4 separate regions of the Homo sapiens genome follow, and all the other regions are linked to region 3. Evidence: promoter capture Hi-C in 16 types of primary human blood cells and fetal thymus (Javierre and others, 2016). All regions are on one chromosome and are shown on one strand. Each heading gives the region's core, a stretch centred on a gene start or on the middle of the fragment in contact. The rest is flanking DNA. Distances are from core to core; before and after follow the strand shown. Region 1 holds the start of FURIN (furin, paired basic amino acid cleaving enzyme). Region 2 overlaps PRC1 (protein regulator of cytokinesis 1). Region 3 holds the start of NGRN (neugrin, neurite outgrowth associated). Region 4 holds the start of RCCD1 (RCC1 domain containing 1).

Region 1 (2,700 bases), core at 144-2,643, 600 kb before region 3:
CACACTGGGTAGCGCCAGCCACAGTTGGGAGAACAATACTCCAGCAGTCAGACTGAGGCAGGAAGTGACTCACGCTTCTTCCTTAGGCTGTGAGCAAGAGAACTCCATTGAGGGGAAACAGGGACAGGGCTGGCCCCACCTACCCACTTGTCCTCAGGCCTAGAAGAAAGGTCAGCCCAGAAAAATAGCAATACTTGCTGCTTCAGGTGCCCCACCCATCCTGGAGACTGGCCCCAGGGGAGCCCGCAGTGGGTCTTTGGAGGGGGAGGGGCTAGCCTAGGCTCAGATGACTGCCACCCAGGCAGAGGCGGTGGGAAGTGGAGCTTCCCAGTTTCTTCCAGCCAGCTTGCCTCTTCAATCTGCATAAGGCAAAATTCTTTAAAGTGGGTTCTCAGAGGTGCCTCCCTGAGAGGGAGGAATGAGGACAGGATTGGGCAGTTGAGCACCTCTCTCTGCTTCACCCAGAGTGTCTCACATTTTAGGGTTTCACATGAGATTGTATTTTACAACAATTCTGCTGCTAAAAAGAATTTGAAAGCCACTCTCTGTGAGACTTCTCTGGAAAAAAATCCCATTTGACCACAACTGGTGACTTCTGCCTTTATCTCATTGCAACAAGTCCTGTGGGCAGGTATTGTTCTCTTTATCACTCTCAACTGGCCCTGGAGCCCAGGTCTCCTGACCTGGGGCCCTAGGGGCCCAAGGTCCTCTGGATCCCACCTTACCAGTTTTACACAGCAGTTAGCAGGACTTGGGCATGTGACAGAAGTCTGGAGATGAGTGAGAGGAGCAGGGCCTGATGGGTAAGTGGGGGCTGTAAAGGGGCTCCATTTTCCCAGCAGGGCTCTGGGAGGAAGAGTCCAGCTAGGCCTCTCTTTATCCTTGATTTGGGGCTAATCCAGAGAGGCTCCTGAGAATCACATAGTCCTAAATCCACCCAGTCATCCTGACTCCAAGCACTCCTGTTGTCTCCTTGGGGTGCTCTGGGAGTCTTCTCTGAAATCTCTGGTCCACCTCAGGCACAGCAAATAAAGCCTTCGGCAGCAGCACCCACACCTAGTTGTAAGCAGAATGTCTACACAACATTCAGACGTGCATAGAAGGGTGCACAACAAAATTCCATTGGTGTTCTCTCCGAATGAAAGGGTCACATTTGCGATCTTTGTTTTCTTCTTTTTGCCTACCTGCATTTTTCAGGAATGTCTACAAGAACTCCTAAAATAATTAAACCTTTAAGTCAATGCAAAATCGAATAAAGCATGTCCATACTTCACCATCCAGCTCCAGAGCACCTGGGATTCATCCTGGCCGCTGCTGCTTCCCCGCCACTCACTGCAGCTGCAACAGTCAGGCTCCTATCCCTTCACAGGGCGGGGCCCTTCCAGTTCTGGCTAAACCACTTTGGGAAAACCTTCTTTATATGACAGGCAAACAGGGTGTCTGTGGGTGGGGGGAGGAGCTAAAAGTGATGTGGTGGTGACATATCTGGTCGCACTGGAACTGGATCCTAACATGGCCAGCCAGCCCTTCTCATTTTCCTCATTTATTGGGGTGGGTCTGCACTTACCTTCTGCCTGGCTTTGCTGCATCCCAGCCACTGGCTGACTTAATGACTTCCTTCCGCCAGCTCCAGCTCCTTGTGTTCTGCCTTGCCTTCCATGGCCAGCCAGTGCTGCCACAATTATGTACCTAATAAATGCTTTGGGTGCAGTCTCGCCTGGCAGACATTCATTGAGCAGCTGCTGAACGCTGGGCTCTGGTGCCCCATAGCTGGGTCCCTTAGAGCTTGTCCATAGGAAGCCAGAGACCACCTCTCTAGTAGGGTTGCATGGAGGTACCTGGGACACACCAGGGTCTTCCTCAGTCTGCGACCTCCCTGGCCTTCCAGCTTCAACAAGCCTGCTGCCCATCCTTCTCTCTCTCGATTCAGAAATGTGAATCACTCAATCCTCATAGTTTTTTTTGTTTGTTTGTTTTATGGGTTTGTTTTTTTTTTTTCTAGACAAGAGTCTCGCTCTGTTGCCCAGGCTGGAATGCAATGGCCTGATCACAGCTCACTGCAACCTCTGCCTTCTGGGTTCAGGCGATTCTCATGCTTCAGCCTCCCAAGTAGCTGGGATTACAGGCTTACGCCACTCGTATTTTTTTTTTTTTTTTTTGTATTTTTAGTAGAGATGGGGTTTTGCCATGTTGGCCAGGCTGGTCTCGCACTCCTGACCTTAAGTGATACACCCACCTCGGCCTCCCTAAGTGCTGGGATTATTAGGCGTGAGCCACCACGCCCGGTCCCCTTGTTGAGTTTTCAATCAGTTTGTCATCCTGAACAGGGTTTCTCAACCTTGGCATTATCAACATCTTGGGTCGGATAATTCTCTGTAGGGGACACTGCACTCTACATTGCAGGATGTTCAGTCGCATCCCTAGTCACTAAACATTAGCTGCTAGTAGCATTCCCGCTCCCATGATGACAACCAAAAAGATCTCCAGGTATTGCCAAATGTCCCTTGGGAGACAAAAATCTCTCCCAGCAAAGAACCACTGTCGCAGAATGAGGAGTGGGAACGTCACAGGATGGTGGTTAGTGTGCCAGGGTTCGAGGCAGCAAGAGTTGTCTGCTGGGAACTAAGCTCTGAGACAGCTAGCAGTGAGGGAGAAAACTCCCAAACTTGAAACTGCCCAGTATGCCAGCACAACAATGGG
Region 2 (2,700 bases), core at 175-2,674, 730 kb before region 3:
GTGTATCATGATAATTGTTCATAATGATTGCTCTGAAGCATCTTAAGATCATACAACTTTTTTGAAATGTCACGTTATTCATTCAAAAAGACTTCTTGGGCCTGGCACAGTGGCTCACACCTGTAATCCCAGCACTTTGGGAGGCCAAGGTGGGAGGATGACTTGAGCCCAGGAGTTCAAGACCAGCCTGGGCAACATAGCAAGACCCTGTCTCTATTTAAAAAATAATAATTTATACTAAAAAAGAAAAGAAAAATACTTCTTGAATGTTTGTTATATACAAGGAACCATTGCAAGTGTTGGGGATATAGCAGTGAGCAAAAGTGACATCCCTGCCCTCACAGAGTTTATATTCTAATAGCAAAAGAGGAGTGTAATAAATAAGTTAGTCTTAAATGGTGGTAAGTGCTATGTAGAGAAATCAAGAGGTTAAGAAGTACTGAAGGTGTAGGAAGGGGGGTTGTGGTTTTAAAGAGATGGGTCAGGAAAGGCCTCCCTGAGAAGGTGATCTCTGAGCAAAGACCTAAGAAGGAAAAGGGTGAAGCCATGCAGCATGGGGGAAAAGAGATCTAGGTAGAGGAATCAGCAAATCCAAGTGCCCTAAGGGGAGATAGCGCCTGGTATGTTCCAGAAAGAGCAAGGAGGTCGCTGTGACAGGAATAGAATGAGCACTGAGGTCAAAAGAAATGGCTTTCAGATGGAATGGGGCTCCATAGGTCTTTGGAAAGTCAGAGGCTTTTCCTTAGAGTGAGATGGCAAGTCGTTGGAGGGTTCTGAGTAGAAGATTAGGACTTGGGGCTCCTGTGTTGACAATGGACTTAAGGAGGCCAGCTTCGAAGCCGGGAGACCAGTTAAGAGGCCCCTGCCATACAGCAAGAAGTTGGTGGTGGTGACCTGGACCAGGGTGGGGGTGGTAGTGGTAGCAGCAGAGGTCAGGAGGAGTGAGATTCTGCCTGTCTTGTGTAGATAATGCTAATGGCGGGCATATAAGAAAGAAGTGTCAAGGATGATACAAGATTTAAGTTTAAAAAAAAAATTAAGTTCAGTACAATTTGAATGTTAGGAAGAGTGAGAAATGTTAGTTTTTAATTTGAAAATGATCCTCTTACAGGAAGTGTCTCTAACTAGAATAATAATAATGGGTGTTTGGTAATTCCAAACACCCATTTCCAACAGGCCAAATAAAATACGTTATATATTAGTAAAATTTTTATTTCTTTTTTTTTTTGGAGACAGTCTTGCTCTGTTGCCCAGGCTGGAGTGCAATGGCATGATCTCAGCTCACTGCAACCTCCGCCTCCTGGGTTCACCGGGTTCAAGTGATTCTCCTGCCTCAGCCTCCTGAGTATCTGGGATTACAGGCACCCACTACCACGCCCAGCTAATTTTTGTATTTCTAGTAGAGATGGGGTTTCACCATGTTGGCCAGGCTGGTCTCGAGCTCCTGATCTCAGGTGATCCGCCCGCCTTGGCCTCCCAAAGTGCTGGGATTGCACACGAGCCACCGCGCCCGGCCATAGTAAAAATCTGTAAGTTTTTCAATTAAGTCACAAATCAAAAACATTTCAGATTATGGGCCGGGCACAGTGGCTCACGCCTGTAATCCCAGCACTTTGGGAGGCCGAGGCGGTCGGATCACGAGGTCAGGAGTTTGAGACCAGCCTGACCAACATGGTGAAACCCCGTCTCTACTAAAAATACAAAAATTAGCCGGGCGTGGTGCCGTGTGCCTGTAGTCCCAGCTACTCAGGAGGCTGAGGCAGGAGAATCGCTTGATCCCAGAAGGCAGAGGTTGCAGTGAGCTGAGATCACACCATTGCACTCCGGCCTGGGTGCCAGACTGAGACTCTGTCTCAAAAAAAGAAAAAAAAAAGAAACCAAAAATGTTTTAGATTATGTGCCAAGATGTTTTTAATAACAGCTTTGAGGTATAATCCACATACCATACAATGTACTTAAATTGTATATTATAATTCAGTGATTTTTAGAATATTCAGAGTTGTGCAATCATCACTGCAATCAATTTTAGAACATTTTTATCACCCCTTTAAAATCCCATTAGCAGTCAATCCCCTTTCACCCCATGGTCCAAATTCTCCCCAGCCGCAACTACAAATCTACTTTTCGGCTAGGCAAGGTGGCGCACACCTATAATTCCAGCACTTTGGGAGCCCAAGGTGGGAGGACTACTTGAGCCCAGGAGTTCAAGAACAGCTTGGGCAACATAGAGAGACTCTACCTCTTAAAAAAAAAAAAAAAATTATTTATTTATTTATTTATTTATTTTATTTTTTATTTTATTTTATTTTATTTTTTGAGATGGAGTCTCACTCTGTCACCCAGGCTGGAGTGCAGTGACGTGATCTCAGGTCACTGCAACCTCCACCTCCCGGATTCAAGCAATTCTCCTGCCTCAGCCTCCCGAGTAGCTGAGATTACAGGTGCCCACCACCACACCCAGCTAATTTTTGTATTTTTAGTAGAGACGGGGTTTCACCATATTGGCCAGGCTGGTCTCAAACTCCTGACCTCGTGATCCGCCGGTCTTGGCACCCAAAGTGCTGGGATTACAGGAGTGATCCACCGCACCCGGCCTAAAAAAAAATTTTATTGTTTAAGTTAGCTGGGTGTGGTGGCTCACATCTGTAGTCCCAGCTACTCCGGAGGCTCAGGTGGGAGGATCACCTGAGCCTAGGAAGT
Region 3 (2,700 bases), core at 5-2,504:
ACTTAAAAACTCTTTTAAGCTTTCCTAAATTATAGATCCTGTCTTCAGAAAAATGCACCTACCTATGGAAGCACCAGCATCCCTGTACCTTAGGTTGGGAACGTCACAACCTACATTCAAGGGTTAAATGTTGTGATGTCTGCGATTTACTATTTAAAAATTTCAGTAAAAATGAACCAACCACGTCATAACGTTAAAAACTATTAAAACCAGGCGGGGCGCAGTGGCTCATGCCTGTAATCCCAGCACTCTGAGAGGCCGAGGCGGGAGAATCACTTGAGGTCTGGAGTTCGAGGCGATAGCGAAACCCCGTCTCTTTAAAAAACAAAACAAAACACTATTAAATCTAGATAATGACAGGGTTAGGGAAGTTCGTTATATTACTCTACTTTTCTGATAATAAATTTCAACGACAAAAAGTAAACGAAAATATAAAAGCAGTATCAAAAAAGCCAAACCCGTTTCTGGGCTCCAGCATCCTTCACTTCTCATCACAGCGGATACAAACAAGGTATCCTGAGTCTCACCGTATCTGCTCCATGGCTTCCCACGTCAGGGTCCTGGGCGGGGCACCAGGCGCCTCCATTTGCCTCCGAATTTTCTGGAATCGGATTGCTTGTTTCTGTCGTTTCAGGGTGCTGGGGGAAGAGAACCAATGGCAGAAGCCATGCGTGGAAGCAGAATGGATGTTTGAAGAGCCTCAGGCTAAATCATGGAGCGCCCAGCCCTCTTCTCTTTGATCGCAAGGGCAACCGGGCCATGTTGCCGGCTTAGAGCTGCTCCGTACACCCAGAAAGCTAACACCTAGAACAATAACTGCCTGTAAGCATGCCGAACTCTCTAAACTGATGATGAAATACGTCACTAATGAAGGGACCAGTGGTCCCAGGGGAGCTGAACACCTGACGCTGCGCCCCTAACAACGGGTAAGAAGAAACAAGGGCCGCTGCGCAAGCAGCGGCAGGACACCCGGCGCCAAGGGGGCGCGGCCTGGAGCGCCGGGGCACGAGGCCCTGCTTCAAGCTGAGGGCCCGGGGAGAAGCCGGTACCTCTCCACCTCCTGCAGCTCCCGTTCCTCCGGCTCCCAGTCGGAATCGGGGTCCGGCTCCCGGCCAATAGGGCCTGGGCCCGCCACCCCCCGGGTCGCGAACCCACAGCGAGTGACGGCGGCGCAAACGCGCCCGCCCAGCAAGAGACTCAGGGTAACCGCCATGTCGACGCAAACCAGCCTTCAGCAGTCGGCTACGAAACAGCAGCGGAAGTAGCCGGGTAAGACCGGAAGTGGAAGGGGCGGGCCGGAGGCTGGGTAGTAGCAAGTTATTTCCCGCTTCACTTGGTGGGGGTAAGATCTGGGCTCACGCTGCTCAGTGGCCCACCCTTTCTGCCTGTAACTGTGGAGAGGGCTTCCCTGAAACGTGAGGGCCGAAATGAGGTACAGGACGCTCCTGGAAAACTGCATAAACTTTAATTAAAGTACGGATTCCGTTTCCAAGAGCCGTCCCTCCGCCCCAGCGGCTGCCCAGGCCTGCCTGTCTCCGCCACCTCGGTGGGCAGGGCTTCCGCTCGGCAGTCTTCTGACGGCGACAGCCCAGTGCCTTGGGCACTCGGCTTCTCTGGGAAAGGGGCTCATTGTCTCCTGGATGGCCTCCAGCCCCGGGCCGCACCTAGGGTTCAGACCCATCACCTAGCGATAAACCCAGGCTAAGGCTTGATGAGCAGAAATGAGTACATGGCTGGCCTTGGCGCCTCTTCATCTTCTAGTCTTTACCGATCCCCAATTAATCTTAGGGTATTGAGGAATTCTTGGTGTCTTTGTATTTTGCCTTATACAAATGGGGTTCCTGGGCAGGGCTTTTCAAAGTGGAACTTGGTGGCAGTCATTCATTTAGCAAAGATTTAATGCCCTTTGGAAACCTGGGGAGGTTATCCAGGAGAGGTAGAGTGCTTCCCTCCTGCTTTTACCTGAACTGATTGATGTTGAGGAGTGCTCTGGAACGCTGCAGCATGGGTGCAGACGCAGGGCAGAGGGGAACCTTGGCTGCTCTGTGTTCAGAGTTTACCATGGAGGGCAAGGTGCATTCAGTCCATGAGTCAGATGCCACTCTTTCCGGTTGCAGAAAATAGCCCTGCTTTGGGGTTAAAGTGGGTGGCACTGATCCTGCCAGGACTCGGTTTATGGCTTCTAGCCTTCTGCTGGCTTGTCCTTCTGCAGTGGAAACATGGATGTCCCTGAGTTGGTATTCACAGAAGAGATTTGTTCACCTCTTTCCCAACTGTGGCCCAATTACCAACACAGAGGAAGGGCATCTCATGCTTCCCTCCACTGTCTTTCCCACACTGTATTGTAATTGGTATGGTATGTCTTTTTGTCCATGTTCCTATTACCTCTTGAGTGCTGGGACTGTATTTCTGCCATTTCTATCACCAGGGTCTAGTGTACAGAAAGGATTAAATAGGCCTGGTGCGGTGGCTTACACCTGTAATCCTAGCACTTTGGGAGACTGATTCAGGTGGATCAGGAGTTCAAGACCAGCCTGGGCTACGTGGCAAAAACAAAATATACAAAAGTTAGCCGAGCATGGTGGTGTGTGCCTATAGTCCCAGCTACTCAGGAGGCTGAGTCAGGAGAATTACTTGAGCCCGTGAGTGGAGTTTGCAGTGAAGTGAGATCAAGCCATTGTACTTCAGCCTTGGCGACAG
Region 4 (2,700 bases), core at 111-2,610, 690 kb before region 3:
AGCGCTGAAATCAGGTCCCACCAACTCCACACACAGTGCTCTGCCCCTCTCCCCACAGCGGAACGCAGAAGAGCGTTTGGGAGGCAGTGCCTCTGCAACTCAGCGGGGCCTTGGGACCGCAGCCAATCCACCTGAGTCCAACTGCGTTTCTTCAGTTTACAAAGGGAGGTGGGGGCGGTGCTGTTTGAACCTTCCTCACAGAATTGTAATAAATGCAAATAAAGGGTTTGGTGCGAGTACATGCCATGATAAACACACAGTATTAGCTTACTGAATCCAGTATTTAGTGTTGACAAAAAAATTATCCCTGGACATCTTACTGGTTTTGAGAAACTTATACAGACAGAATTTCAACTGTACCTTATCTAGCCATTTATTCGTCCAGCGAGCATTTACTGAGCGCTCCTCCTCTGCCAGTGAGGACAGCTGTCTGCTCCCAAGGAGCTAACCGTTAAATGGGGAGACAAACAGTCTGGTGGTTACAACAGCAACGCCAACTTCAAGCAGATTCGGCTGGAGCGGGTTTGTTTTTTTTTTTTTTTAATATAATAGAGACAGGGGTCTCGCTATGCTGCCCAGGCTGGTCTCAAATTCCTGGGCTCGAGTGATCCGCCCGCCTCGGCCTCCCAAAGCGTTGGGATTACAGGCGTGAGCCGCTGCACCCGGGCTGAAGCAGAATTGCATGGGCATTTTCAGGCCTCTTAAGTCAGATCCTGGGTCTCTCCTGAGACCCCAGTTCCTGGGCTCCTAACCCCTTCCGTGTCCTCTCCCAACCCAAGGGGGCCTCTGACCTTGATCTTGACCCTATGCCCTCTACCCTCTCGGGCAGGTCCTTCTGGTGGGCAGCCTTGGAGGAAACGCCGAGGCGCAGAGCGGCCGCCTCCGGAAAGGCCTCCCGCCCAGCGGGCGCCGACAGCCACGGGGAGAAAAGGTTTGAAGGGCGCGCGGCGCGAGGCGGCCAATCACCAGCAAGGGCGGTGACGTCGCCGCCCGGGGCGCGGCGGCCGCAGCCCTGTTCAACTCCCCTTGAGGGCCTCTCCGGTCCCGAGGCCTACGCCGGGGCCCTGCGGCCCGGTCTGTGAAATGGGCTGAAACCTCCGAGGGGCGTTGGACCAAGGCCCTGGAGGAAACCGGGGGCGTTGGACCAAGGCAGAGGTTGGGCCAGGTGGTCCCGCCCCTGCAGGAACCCGTGGGGCTGGAGCTCGGATTAGAACCACAGAGAGGACATTCATTAAGACTTGAGCTAAAGGTTTGGCGAGGAGTGACGCCCAAGACGGGCGGACCCCGCCACCCACCTCAGTCCCGGGACCGCGGCAGCTCAAAACCCGACACGCGCCGGACTCATGCCCCAACAGGAAGCAGCTTTTACCTTCCACGGATTGGCTCAGGACCCGTCACGTGCCTCTGTCGAGCCAACGAGCCTCACGCTGGGCTTAGCCCTCCTCGAACGTGCTGGGGTGGTGGGCGGGGCCCAAGCCGCCCTTCAACCAGGCTCAGCTGGCCACCAACCCCAACCCCCGCCCCAGCGCCCTCAGCGGAGGCCACAGAGGACTCCCAATATAAAGACAAACGTACTGAAGGCCCAGCATATGGGAGTCTCTACCCTAAACGACTTATTTCTTGGGATAGTTTAATATTTTTTGAGATAGGGTCTCGCTGTGTCGCCCAGGCGACACTTTGGGAGGCTGCGCTCTGGGCTCACTGCAACCTTCGCCTACCGAGTAGCTGGGATTACAGGTGCATGCCGCCACACTCTGCTCTTTTTTTTTTTTTTTTTTTTTTTTTGGTATTTTTATAGAGAAAGAGTTTTGCTTGTTGCCCAGGCTGGTCTCGAACCCCTGACTTCAAGTGATCCACCTGCCTCAGCCTCCCAAAGCGCTGGGATTACAAGCTTGAGGCACCGCACCTGGTGAGTTTCTTATTGATTAGCTTCCTAGGCTTACCCTTTGTCCCTCCAGTAGGATTAAGAAGCAACTCAGTGGGCCCTGGTTGGGGAATCCATTGGATTCCTTCCATGGAGGTGGGTCTGCCACTGTGAAGCTCCGTTGCACACTCACCCACGCCCAGCTCACACCCATACTCACCCACACTCACCCACTCAGAGACTCCCACTCACAGCAGCCCTCCCTGCCCAAGGACAGGGCACACAGTGGAGTTCTACACACTTTTATTGGAGGGGCAGGCCTGATAGCAGGCTCACAGCTGGTGAGGCTGCTGATGTGTGCGCCCTTCCAGATGCCCCAGGATCCACAGGCTGTGTTGGGATGCACCTTCCCCATTCCCAGCTGACTACAGTAGTACAGAAAAAGGGCCCCTCTGAGTGAGGCTGCAGGCAGTGCTGGCCAAGCAGGGCTGTGTGACTGAACGTGGCCGCTGACTCAGAACAGAGGACATCCTAGGGCAGCAAGCGAGGATGGGCAAGAGTATTGGGCATGCCAGCCACCACCAGCCAAAGCTGCTTCCGTCCTTACTCTCCGTGCCACAATAGGTAGCGTGTGCATGAGCCTTGGGCCCAGGGACAACCCCCTCACTCTCCATCTTGGTTGGGTTGGATAAGCCCATATTCCACTGCTTTGTCCAGGCAGGCTGCAGCAGCCCTTGTGACAGGGCTGTGGTCACCCTTAGCTAGCACTGACAAGATCTCCATCATCTCACTCTCCATCAGGGTGCTGGCAATCTCCCTCGAGGCCTCCACCATGT

What was found. Contacts are between HindIII fragments. The CHiCAGO score rates a contact against its expected background, and 5 or more counts as called.
Region 1: a contact is called between the fragment with the promoter of FURIN here and the fragment with the promoter of NGRN in region 3, in 4 of 17 cell types (naive B cells, erythroblasts, total B cells and 1 more). The highest score is 7.3, in naive B cells.
Region 2: a fragment that was not itself captured here is called in contact with the fragment with the promoter of NGRN in region 3 in 1 of 17 cell types (naive CD4 T cells); the score reaches 5.4 in naive CD4 T cells.
Region 4: the fragment with the promoter of RCCD1 here is called in contact with the fragment with the promoter of NGRN in region 3 in 8 of 17 cell types (naive CD8 T cells, non-activated CD4 T cells, total B cells and 5 more); the score reaches 9.4 in naive CD8 T cells.

What each region holds. Positions count from the first base shown.
Region 1 is chr15:90,867,281-90,869,980 of GRCh38, reverse strand. FURIN (furin, paired basic amino acid cleaving enzyme) reads right to left here and starts at 1,393. Exons shown (of 16, transcript NM_002569.4): 1 at 1,270-1,393. RefSeq lists enhancers at 1-222, 160-269, 8-302, 370-419, 1-861. The HindIII fragment of the contact is 27,514 bases long and covers 1-2,700 here.
Region 2 is chr15:90,989,952-90,992,651 of GRCh38, reverse strand. All of the region lies in intron 1 of PRC1 (protein regulator of cytokinesis 1), which reads left to right. Among named protein-coding and RNA genes, the nearest start is that of PRC1, 3.2 kb to the left of the region's middle. The HindIII fragment of the contact is 7,498 bases long and covers 1-2,700 here.
Region 3 is chr15:90,264,226-90,266,925 of GRCh38, reverse strand. NGRN (neugrin, neurite outgrowth associated) reads right to left here and starts at 1,254. Exons shown (of 3, transcript NM_001033088.3): 1 at 1,050-1,254; 2 at 528-638. The coding sequence starts at 1,213. It overlaps TTLL13 (tubulin tyrosine ligase like 13), which reads right to left. Exons shown (of 15, transcript NM_001396017.1): 15 at 1,449-2,206. The coding sequence ends at 1,959. It also overlaps a transcript of CIB1 not described here. RefSeq lists enhancers at 300-1,270, 1,064-1,293, 1,654-1,783, 1,271-2,242. The HindIII fragment of the contact is 8,147 bases long and covers 22-2,700 here.
Region 4 is chr15:90,953,544-90,956,243 of GRCh38, reverse strand. RCCD1 (RCC1 domain containing 1) reads right to left here and starts at 1,360. Exons shown (of 8, transcript NM_001017919.2): 1 at 1,296-1,360. It overlaps UNC45A (unc-45 myosin chaperone A), which reads right to left. Exons shown (of 20, transcript NM_018671.5): 20 at 2,151-2,700. The coding sequence ends at 2,528. It overlaps RCCD1-AS1 (RCCD1 and UNC45A antisense RNA 1), which reads left to right and starts at 1,751. Exons shown (of 2, transcript NR_170325.1): 1 at 1,751-1,909. RefSeq lists a silencer at 864-993 and enhancers at 1,214-1,323, 1,124-1,678, 2,503-2,700. The HindIII fragment of the contact is 3,970 bases long and covers 1-1,893 here.